2 separate regions of the Homo sapiens genome follow, and region 2 is linked to region 1. Evidence: promoter capture Hi-C in 16 types of primary human blood cells and fetal thymus (Javierre and others, 2016). All regions are on one chromosome and are shown on one strand. Each heading gives the region's core, a stretch centred on a gene start or on the middle of the fragment in contact. The rest is flanking DNA. Distances are from core to core; before and after follow the strand shown. Region 1 holds the start of SLC16A2 (solute carrier family 16 member 2). Region 2 overlaps SLC16A2 (solute carrier family 16 member 2).

The links. Contacts are between HindIII fragments. The CHiCAGO score rates a contact against its expected background, and 5 or more counts as called.
Region 2: a contact is called between a fragment that was not itself captured here and the fragment with the promoter of SLC16A2 in region 1, in 1 of 17 cell types (M1 macrophages). The highest score is 6.0, in M1 macrophages.

The regions. Positions count from the first base shown.
Region 1 is chrX:74,418,733-74,423,983 of GRCh38, forward strand. SLC16A2 (solute carrier family 16 member 2) reads left to right here and starts at 2,761. Exons shown (of 6, transcript NM_006517.5): 1 at 2,761-3,335. The coding sequence starts at 2,906. It overlaps LOC105373252 (a long non-coding RNA gene), which reads right to left and starts at 1,916. Exons shown (of 2, transcript XR_007068267.1): 1 at 1,574-1,916. The HindIII fragment of the contact is 8,329 bases long and covers 919-5,251 here.
Region 2 is chrX:74,509,244-74,514,494 of GRCh38, forward strand. All of the region lies in intron 1 of SLC16A2 (solute carrier family 16 member 2), which reads left to right. Among named protein-coding and RNA genes, the nearest start is that of SLC16A2, 90 kb to the left of the region's middle. RefSeq lists an enhancer at 1,478-1,527. The HindIII fragment of the contact is 780 bases long and covers 2,548-3,327 here.

The sequences.
Region 1 (5,251 bases), core at 1,511-4,010:
CCATTCCAGTGATCTAAAAACCAGTTTAAACAATGAGGGAAGTAGAATTCAAGATAGTAAGAATCTAGATGGATGCAAGATTCCAGGGTCTATTCCTAGTTCCGGGGTAGGAAATAACTATTTTTAGGGTCTTCTTCAATCAGGTTCCCTGCAAGTGGAAACCAAACTAGTGTTCTCCTGGGGCAACAGGTGGTCATATGTATGGGGAGACCCCTGACTAAAAAGCAGACCTTAAGCCCCGGTGCCCATAGTGTCCATGACTTGTCACTCCTCGTAGCTGAAGCATTATGAATTTTTATTAAAATGTAAACGTTTCCTAGGAGAGGCAGACGGCATACATATTAACTTTCTGGCCTGATTAGCCTTCACTTCCCTCTTTCTGTGAGTAGACTCTATAGCTCTGTGCTTTGAGCTCAAAGCATGCTCTGATGTAGGGGACCACCTTCCCCTACCCTTGGCCTTTTAAAATCCTACTCAACATTCCAGGCCTTGCAGGAACGGTGGCTCATGCCTGTAATCCCAACACTTTGGGAGGCCGAGGCGGGTGGATCATTTGAGGTCAGGAGTTTGAAACCAGCCTGGCCAACATGGTGAAACCCCATCTCTACTAAAAATACAAAACTTAGCGGGTGTGGTGGCGCACGACTGTAATCCCAGCTACTCGGGAGGCTGAGGCAGAAGAATCGCTTGAACCAGGGATCGGAGGTTGCAGTGAGCCGAGATGGCGCCACTGTACTCCAGCCTGGGCTACAGAGCGAGACTGTCTCAAAAAGAAAAAAAAAATTCCAGGCCCATCTTGAACACCACCTCTTCCAGAAGCCCACTGTGATAGTGCAGTCAGATCCTGCCTTCCCTCCTCTGTCTCCTCCCAGGGAGCCTCAAATCCTAGACTCTTTTGGTGAAACACAGGGAGCATGAAGCTTCTCGTTATATGGAGACCTGCCTTGAATTCTAGCTTGTCCTTGACTTGGCCCATGATCTTAGGCTAATAAATGCCTTGACCTCGTTGAGCCTCAGTTTTCGTGCAAAAAAGCAGGTAATAATAAACCTTAGGGCAATAAGGGACGTGCTCTGTTCGGGCAATGCCTTCCCTGCTGAGTGGCGTGGCCCTGTGATTTTTGAATTTGGCTGATTCCTCTCATATGGCAGCGCAAGCCCCTCAGGACGTCTATATCCTTCCACCCAGCTCCGCCAGCCCTCAGGTGCTTAATGACTGTATTTACAGGCATCTAGCGCAGCCACGCAGCCCCGGAGCTGCATCACCTCTGGCTATGCAGTCTTTCACTTATCAGGAGGGTTAATGAGATGCAGGGTAGAAAGGTCTTGCCACTCGCCCGCCCGCTCGTGGAAGCCGAGTAGCTTGGTAACGACACCACGACTTCACGTTTAGTGCATTAGACGCGTAGACCCTTAGGGGAGGCAGAGCTTCCCGGTATCGCCGAGCGGGCCCTGAGGGCTGAGGCTGGGCACCCCTGCGCACCCCTGCTGAGTGCCCGGCCACCAGAAAGACAGATCCCCCACCTTTCCTTCTCCCTGACCCGGCGCGCTTCCTGGGGAACAAACTCTCCCTTACCCTCAGTGGGGCTGGGGCCTCAGTCTGCGACATACAGTGGGACTCCCATGTCTGCATGCCTGAGGTGGGCGGAAGGGGGCGGTGGGTGCTGGGAAGACATCCGTCCGCTTGCAGCTCCGCTGAGTCTCCAGCACCTGAAAAGCCGCGGCCGAGGCCTGAGGGACCAGCCCAGCCGAGATATCGGGGGCGGGGCAGCCCAATCCCAAACTGGCGGCTGGACCCGACTCCAACTCGTTCCTCCTAAGTCCGGGACAGATTGTCGGGAGGAGCTTGAACTGAGCTTCGGCTCCCGACTGGGCCTGGGCCCGGCCCCCACTGGTGCCACCTCCCTCCCTTCCTGGCCCGGCTCCTGGCCCACACTCGGCCCTGGCCCGGCCCTGGCCCGGCCCAGACCCGGCCCGGCCCTGGCCCGGCCCAGACCCGGCCCTCTGAGGCTCCTCCGGGCTCCAGGTTGGCGCAAACAAAGCCCTGATTGACTGCCCGGAGGGGCGGGCCTCGCTGCATGGCCGCCTCCTCCCCTCCCAGGCCGCCAGGGATTTGCCGGGAAGAGCGGGGGCAGGGGGAGACTCCCGGGGGTGCGCAGGACCGCGGGGGGCCGAGTCCTCGGGCTCGAGAAGATTGTGTCCACCCGCTGTCCGAGGCCCAGGCTGTCCCCTCAGGTCGTCCTCCTCAAGTCCAAGGAGGGACATGGGAGCTCCTGAGGGCAGGGTGGGGTTCCTCGCGGGCCAGCTGTCGTCCTAGGGTCCCCGGTGCCACCTCAGTTGCGGGCTGCTTGTGAGGAAGGAGGGTATGGGAGCAAAAAATAGGAGGGGTCTTCCCGAGGCTCGGGGTTGATCAGTGTCGGTTCTAGAGCCTGCGGGGAAAAGAGGGCAGGAGAACAGGATAGTTTGTGCTTCCTTTTTTCCATTTTAACTTTTCCTCTAACGGGCATCCGGGCAAGAACAGGGTTCAGTAGTTTGGGAAGGGAGCTGGGGGAGGCAGTGGCGGCTGGAGTAGGTAGGCGAGTAAAAGGAGGAGGAAGGGCTGGGGAGAAGAGCGAGGCTGTAGCGGCTGCCTGTTGAGGGAGGAAGAGGTGGGGGGTGTGGAGGAGGGGGAGGAGAGAGAGATGACATGGGGAGAGGAGGAGGGGGGTTGGACGTGGGAGGAGGAGGAGAGGGCTCGAGGGACCGTCTGTCGCGGGACGGGCTGGCCAGCTGGGGCGCGGAGCCTGGAGGAGGAGGCAGCGGCAGCGGCAGCAGCAGCCCTCCGAGCAGCAGCAGCTGCAGCAGCAGAAACAAGTACCAGCCACAAAGCGGCTCCTCTGGCCCAAGCAGCCACAGTCCCCCCGCCGCGATGGCGCTGCAAAGCCAGGCGAGCGAGGAAGCAAAGGGGCCCTGGCAGGAGGCAGACCAGGAACAGCAGGAGCCGGTGGGTAGCCCAGAGCCGGAGTCTGAGCCGGAGCCTGAGCCCGAGCCCGAGCCCGTGCCAGTGCCCCCGCCCGAGCCCCAGCCGGAGCCCCAGCCCCTACCGGACCCCGCACCCCTGCCGGAGCTGGAGTTCGAGTCCGAGCGGGTGCACGAACCCGAGCCCACGCCTACGGTAGAGACCCGCGGCACCGCGCGCGGCTTCCAGCCTCCCGAAGGTGGCTTCGGCTGGGTGGTGGTGTTCGCTGCCACCTGGTGCAACGGCTCCATCTTCGGCATCCATAACTCTGTCGGGATCCTCTACTCCATGCTGCTAGAGGAGGAAAAGGAAAAAAATCGCCAAGTGGAGTTCCAAGCAGGTGAGTGGCCCCGCACGCCCCACTTGGCATTTTGGGCAAGGTTGGCCGCTCCCGCTGCCACCGACCCCATACCTCCCGGTCCGAGGCGCCCCTCCAACGCGCCTCTCCGACTCCTCCCCTTACCCCTTACCCCTTGCCCCTTGCCCCTTTCCATGGCTCTCCTAGGGTGCGGGTTGCGGGGCTTTGGGCAGCTTGGACTGGGGAGACTAGGTGCAAGGCGTCCCGGGGGTACGAACTGGGACATTCATTGATCCTTGGCAAGCAATGGACTTTTTTTTGCCCTGGGACAAATCTAAATGCACCTTTCAGGTTTAAGGTACCTTTGCCCCTGTGTGCTGGGGGAAAATATTTGCAGGACTTTTTTTTTTTTTGGAGGTGGGGAGAAGTCATGAGGAGAGGAGAGAATTGAGAGGCGGGGCGGGCTCTGAGAGAAGCACTGTACCGCTGATCTCCGCAGCAGCCCCCCGGTTCCTTTGGGGAAACGGAGGTGTTTTCTGTTAAAAACACTTTAGGAATCCTGATGACTATGAGCGAAGAGTCAAACACATGGCAGGCGTGCGTGTCTGCAAGAGAGAAAGGGAGGGAGGGAGTTCGAGTCGGGGTGTGAGTGCGTCTCTGGCCGCCGCCGTTACGGCCCAGCTGGGCCCGGCAGTCCTCTGCCGCCCCGCGGGAGTGAATGGATCTCCGTGCCCTATGAGCCGAGCCCCAGAGCGGGCGGGGAGGCGGTCTCCGCAGTCTCCTGCCAGAGAGGCGTGAGGCCGCAGGCAGGCTGGGCCCTGCTGCTCACTCCGCACCGCCCCCAACTTCAGCCCTGCCTTCCCCGGCAACCCGCGCCTCTCTGCTACCGGTGGGGTGCCTCGTTCGGCCTACAGCCTGAGTGCCAGACCCGCCATTCCAGCTTTCCCCTGGAGCTGACTTGATCTCAGACAGAGTTGGGGGGCATAGCCCTCGCTTTCCAGGCCAGTGGACGCAAGACCCCAGGCGTGTGCGCTCTTCTCATTGAGGCCGCCTGTGAGCTGGGAGAAGTCAGAGGAACCATCTCGCTTTCCCAGCAAAGCCGCTGGCGAAATCCCTCAGCAGTTCTGGTGAGGGATTCAGACGAAGACGGGGGATTGGGATGCCCTCTCTGGCAAGGCTTGCTCCCTCTCGTGGCTCCTCAGGACAGCTCGACTCTTGCCACCAGCCCCAAGTTCACAACTCAGAATATGTGGCTTTTCGCAGTGTTGCCCTCGGACTGAGGAGTTCCATCCTCTCGCCAACCTCCAACCCCCACATATTTCTACTGCCATTTGAGGGGACCTGGGAATTATTAAGTGAACATAGAAACCTTGAATTCTGGAGTGTCCACCTGTGGATTCCCTGGGCCCTCTCCAGGACTTGTGGTTTTAGTTTGCAGCTTTGCTGGACTTCCCTGGCAGAAGGGGCTTTGGGGATCTTGGTGCCTCAGACCTTGTGATCCATTGGCACAGCAGCGGTGTGCAGGCCCCGATGAAGATAGTGCGTCAGTGGTTGTCAAAGGAAGTCTCTTGACTACCCAGGCCCACTGTGATGCTGGAATGGAGGGGTCCTGGGACAGTGTAGAGCAACTTCTGCGGGGAAGATGGCTGCCACAGTCACCCCTGGGACCACCTTTTTCCCTGCTTTGATGCAGTTCAGGGGCTCCTGGGAAAGCAGGCAGTGTAGGGACTCATGCTGTTGCCTAGGTTACCTCCAAGGGCACCTGCTGAGCATTGCCCTGTGGTTGAAGGCAGGCTGTTGGCCTTCAGGATCAGTGAGTGGCAAAGTCTGAGTGAAACTTGATGAGAAGCAGTAGAGGCTAGGCTGAAGCTAGGCCCTGGCATTTATATGGTGTGAGGAGGCCTAGAGCTGTGATCTTAGGAGTGTATAATAAAACTTGGAAAAACCACTATTTTACC
Region 2 (5,251 bases), core at 1,688-4,187, 91 kb after region 1:
GTGACCCACTGCACCTGGCACCCTATTCCTAACCGTAGTGTGGAACCATTCAGTCTTTCACAAGATGATGTTAGCTATAGGCTTTTCATGGTTGCCCTCTATCAGGTTGTGAAAGTTCCCTTGTATTTCTGGTTTGCTAAGAGTTTTTTTAAAATTTTGAATGGATACTGGATTTTGTCAAATGCTTTTTCTGCATTGGTTGAGATGATTATATATACATTTTTAATTTTAAGTCTGGTATAACTGCATATTGCATTGATCGATTTTTGAATGTTGAACTAACCTTGCATTTCCAGGATAAATCACACTTGATCATGATGTTTTTTCCCCTTTTTTTTGAGATGGAGTCTCACTCTGTTGCCCAGGCTGGAGTGCAGCGGCGCAATCTCGGCTCACTGCAACCTCCACCTCCTGGGTTCAAGCGATTCTCCTTCCTCAGCCTCCCGAGTAGCTGGGACTACAGGCACGTGCCACCACGCCCGGCTAATTTTTTTGTATTTTTTTAGTAGAGACAGAATTTCACCATGTTGGCCACGCTGGCTTGAACTCCTGACCTCAAGTGATCCACCCACCTCGACCACCCAAAGTGCTGGGATTACAGGCGTGGGCCACCGCTCCCAGCCTATCCTTTTTAGATATTGTGGGATTCAATTTGCTAAAATGTTAAGAGTTTGAAACTGTGTTCAGGATGGATCTTCATCTGTCATTTTCTTTTCTTGTGATGTTTTTTATCTGGTTTTGGTGTCAGGGTAATACTGGCCTTATAGAATGAGCTGAGAAGTGTTTCCTCCAATTTTTTGGAAGAGTTTGTGTAGAACTGGTATTATCTCTTCCTTAAATGTTTGGAATTCACAATTGAAGCCAACTTGGTCAGCCCCTCTATGATTCATATGGGCCCTTTCATTTTTAACATCTTGCAGTTCTAATAAGACCCTGTCATCAATCTTTTTATGTTAGATATGTGTGTCTCTTCTCTGTCTCCTTATTTCTTGTCTGTCTTTGCCTTTGGCCTGTTTCCCATACTTTCCATTAGGTGAATGTCTGACAATCTGAGTCTGTAGGTGCTGGGCCAGCCTTCTCAGAGAAAGATGAGGAAACTGTTTCAAGTCATAGTTTCTCCCAACACTGGTGTGTTTTAGTAAAAAAAAAAAACAAAACAAAACACCTGTAATCTGCCTTAGCTACTAAAGTAGATAACTGACCATTGTCCAAAACCAGTGGGTTCAAATCAGTGGCCATAGGCCATTAAGTAGAGCCCAGTTACCCTTGAAGGACTGGGACAAGAGTTAAAATGTCTCATTTTCAGACTTGGCATGGGCACTCTTAAGTGTAGGTCTCTCTGTTTGACTCTGTCTCAGTTTGACTCTCTGTAAAATTAGTAACTGAACCCCTAAATCTTCTAACTCCAAAACTGAAAGTAAATAAACAATAGCTGCAGAGGGAAGCAGGCCAAATAACCTAATATGGAGGTAATAAGACAACTTATATTTTCAGTGAATATTTGACTTTAAAACCTTTGAAACTTGGGCTGGGCATAGTGGCTCATACCTGTAATCTCAGAGCTTTGGGAGGCTAAGGAGGGAGGACGGCTTGACACCAGGAGTTTGAGACCAGCCTAGGCAACATAGCAAGATCCCATCGCTTCAAAAACTTAAAAAAAAAAAAAAAATAGCCGGGTGTGGTGGTGCATTGGTGCGTGCCTGTAGTACTAGCTACCCTCAGGAGACTGAGGTGGGATGATAGCTTAAGCATGGGAGCTTGAGGCTGCAGTGAGCCATGATTGTGCCACTGCACTCCAGCCTGGGTGACAGAGCAAGACCCTGTCTCTAAAAAGAAAACAAAGTTTTGAAATTCAAATTAGGTAGCCCACGAAAATTGGCATGTCTTGAGACAAAATGTGGAGAGATAAAAATGAGATTCGTGGTTTTTTTTATTTTATTTATTTTATTTTTTTTTGAGACGGAGTCTCGCTCTGTCGCCCAGGCTGGAGTGCAGTGGCCCGATCTCGGCTCACTGAAAGCTCCGCCTCCCAGGTTCGCGCCATTCTCCTGCCTCAGCCTCCTGAGTAGCTGGGACTATAGGCACCCGCCACCGTGCCCGGCTAATTTTTTGTATTTTTAGAAGAGACGGGATTTCACCGTGTTAGCTATGATGGTCTCTATCTCCTGACTTCGTGATCCTCACGCCTCGGCCTCCCAAAGTGCTGGGATTACAGGCGTGAGCCACCGCACCCGGCCGCGATTTGTTTAGATATGGAATGCTTGGAAAGTAATGTTTCCTAGTATTGCTGTGCCACCCCCAGAAAAACACCATCACATTATAATGAAGAAAAAAGTAAGATACTGAGAGGACCCAATGCCAGGACAAATATGAAAGTACTTTTGGACTTTTAAAATAAAGATTTGCTAGAAATATGAAGTAGAATTCTAGACACAATGGATGGATGGTGAGTAGCTACCAAAGTAAATGGGCTTAGAGTGTCTGAGTGCTGGAAGAAAGAGCTTTTCAACACAGTGTTTGTCAGAAAATGGAAAAAGGTTTGAAAGAAGCTTCTCTGAGCAAGAGTGTTTCATCTATTCACTGGACAGACAGTTATGTAGCACTTAACTCTGGGCCCTGCACAAGGCCAGGGAAATAATTAATAAATGACGCTCAGCTGGAGGTCACTCTTCTGGTGAGCCGCAGAGATAAGGGCTCCTGTTATCTCAGTCCCCAAAGAAGAACAGAGTCTTGCATTTCTTCCCTCTGGAGCTCCCCAGCTGACCCCTGAAGTGCCTTCACCTACATCCTCCTTTTAAATATGTTTCACCAATTCTTTCAGTCATCTCACTAATGCGTGCCCACCACCTGGCTGGATGTGCCGGCATAAGTCATCACAGTCCTAAGCTGCCTGCTACCTACCACACACTGTCCCCATGCCAAACCAATACCATTCCAACTATCCCATTTATTCAAACTAGATGTAGACACATCACCATGTTCTGGGAACTCTGAAGAGGTGTGGTGATGGGGCAGAAGCAAGTGAATATTTCCGGCAACACAGAATCCAATTCATGGTGCCATTCTCTCCACTTAGCACTGGGTATAGCAGTTGGATAGCTTAGCCTTAGAACCTGTCCTCTTAATCCTATTTGCTATTCTCTCACTGTACTGTGCATCTTGTCAGGAAGTAGGGGCTCTTGAATAGAGCCATCTCTGCCCCTGTGTCAGCCACCTTATCTCTCTTCCTATCTACCCTTGACCTATCTTTGACCTTTATTTGACTTTGCACCGTCATTCCCTCATTTGAGCTTTTGTTAGTTCCCCACAATAAAAGGAATTTATGAAAGCTTGTGATGTATTTGGAGAGTTTGGCTCTTGGAGTACCCCCTCTCTCTCTTTCAACTCAGAGAGGTTGGCTTTCAGCAGCCAAGGAGTGAGGAATCTGGTCTCACACTTGAATTATTTTCTGAGCAGTCTCCTGTACTTCAAAGACATTAGCCTGAGTGCCTGGGTAAGGAGCCAAGGCACTAATTGAGTATTTGAGTAAAAAGACTTTGAGGATGAGGAAGCTTGAGGGCCAACAGATCCAGGATGGTGCTGGAAAAGCCAGAGTTCTGGTGTTGTGCTGCCCAGGTCCAACAGAAATCTAGTTAGATATGGGTGCTTTGAGGAGGAAAGTAGGGGTGCCTGCTGAATACAGACATATGTTCACTTAGGTACAGGCCTTTTGGGGCCAAGTCTCACTCCATGATACCATAGGAGAGGGGTAGGCCTTGTTACCGCTGAGAGGGGAAGGTTAAGGTTGAAAATAACTCTGGGAACCACTGAGGAAAAGTGTGAATGGTATAATAATTATACCATTGAATTATATGAATTATAATAGTTCATCCTCAAAATCCAAGGATCTGTTGAACACAAAATTTATTAGTCAGGAATCAGATACTTGCTCAGCACTTATGCACTGTGGATTGAAAATAATGCTTTCTCCCTGATGGAATGTTACAAGGTTCCACCTCTGATTTTTCCAAGTCTGTTTAGAAAGATAGGTCTGTACATTGCCTGTTAAAATCCACCCAACTCTCCCACGAATCTCAGCTGCTTCACTGAAATCTCTTTCTTTGTCTTCCCCATATAAGAGCAGGGGTAATTATGGGGAATGAAAGAAACTCCTAGCTTTGAGTCCAAGAATTGTTAGAATTCTAGAAAACCTCTACCTACTCTTTGCATTTTCCAAAATGGGAAACTGAATATAAGAAAGGTAAAGGATAACCAGTAACACCCAATAACACCTATCTATTATCAATAAGGTTATAATTGTCACCATAATTGTTATCATGACTATTATTTCTTCTTTTTTAATACAGTCATTGCTTGATTATTTTTCTCTTACTAAAATTTTTTGATAACCTATCCCACTAACAGTCCCTTAAGTCACTTCTCTTATATAACGCTATTCTTCTTCAGTCACAATCTAGCTATTAGATTACCTTTCTCTCCCTTTATAGAAAATTTTCTCTCACTTGGAGTTTCTGACTTCTCTGAAAATCTTTAAATAGAAAATTTTATTCTGGCCTTGAACCATGAGGTTCATAAATTTTATTGCCCTACTTAAAAAAACAATGTGTTCCCTACTCCACTGTGAGATCCTTGAAGTCAAATACCATATGTCACTCATTTAACATCTTGAATGCCTATGGGATAGACATGTGTCTGGGCCAGAGAGAATGTTAAATAATTGTTGAATAAATTAATATAACATGTGAATTACTTCATTTTTAAAAATATACATTTAGTATTAAAAACTATATTAAGGCACTTTTCTCTATACTTCCAATGCAGTACAGCTAAAAATGCTGGACATTATATCTAAAACAAATGTAGCAAGATTGAAAAGTGGAGAGAAGAAGGCACATGGGCTAGGAAAGTTGGGATCTAAGAAAAAACGTAACAGAAAACCTGAGTTTTCTTTTTGCTTCACATATCTTAGACCTGGAGCTGAAGAAGCCAGCAACCAAGAAATGCCAATGGAAGCAGACCAAAAAAAAAAAAAAGCTTGATTTGTCTAGCCAAAAGACGGGAAAAGGGGCAGCCTAGCAAAACAAAAAAGCTTTAAACAATAATCCCTCTACTCCAGCCTAACACCATGGGAAAAAATGCACCCCACTTGACCTTTGCCAACAAAGGCCTACTGGGGAGCCAAGACTTCTACACTCACCCAGCTGTAACAAGGTGCTCCAACCTCCCCGCCTCCCATGCTGAGGTGGTGTCA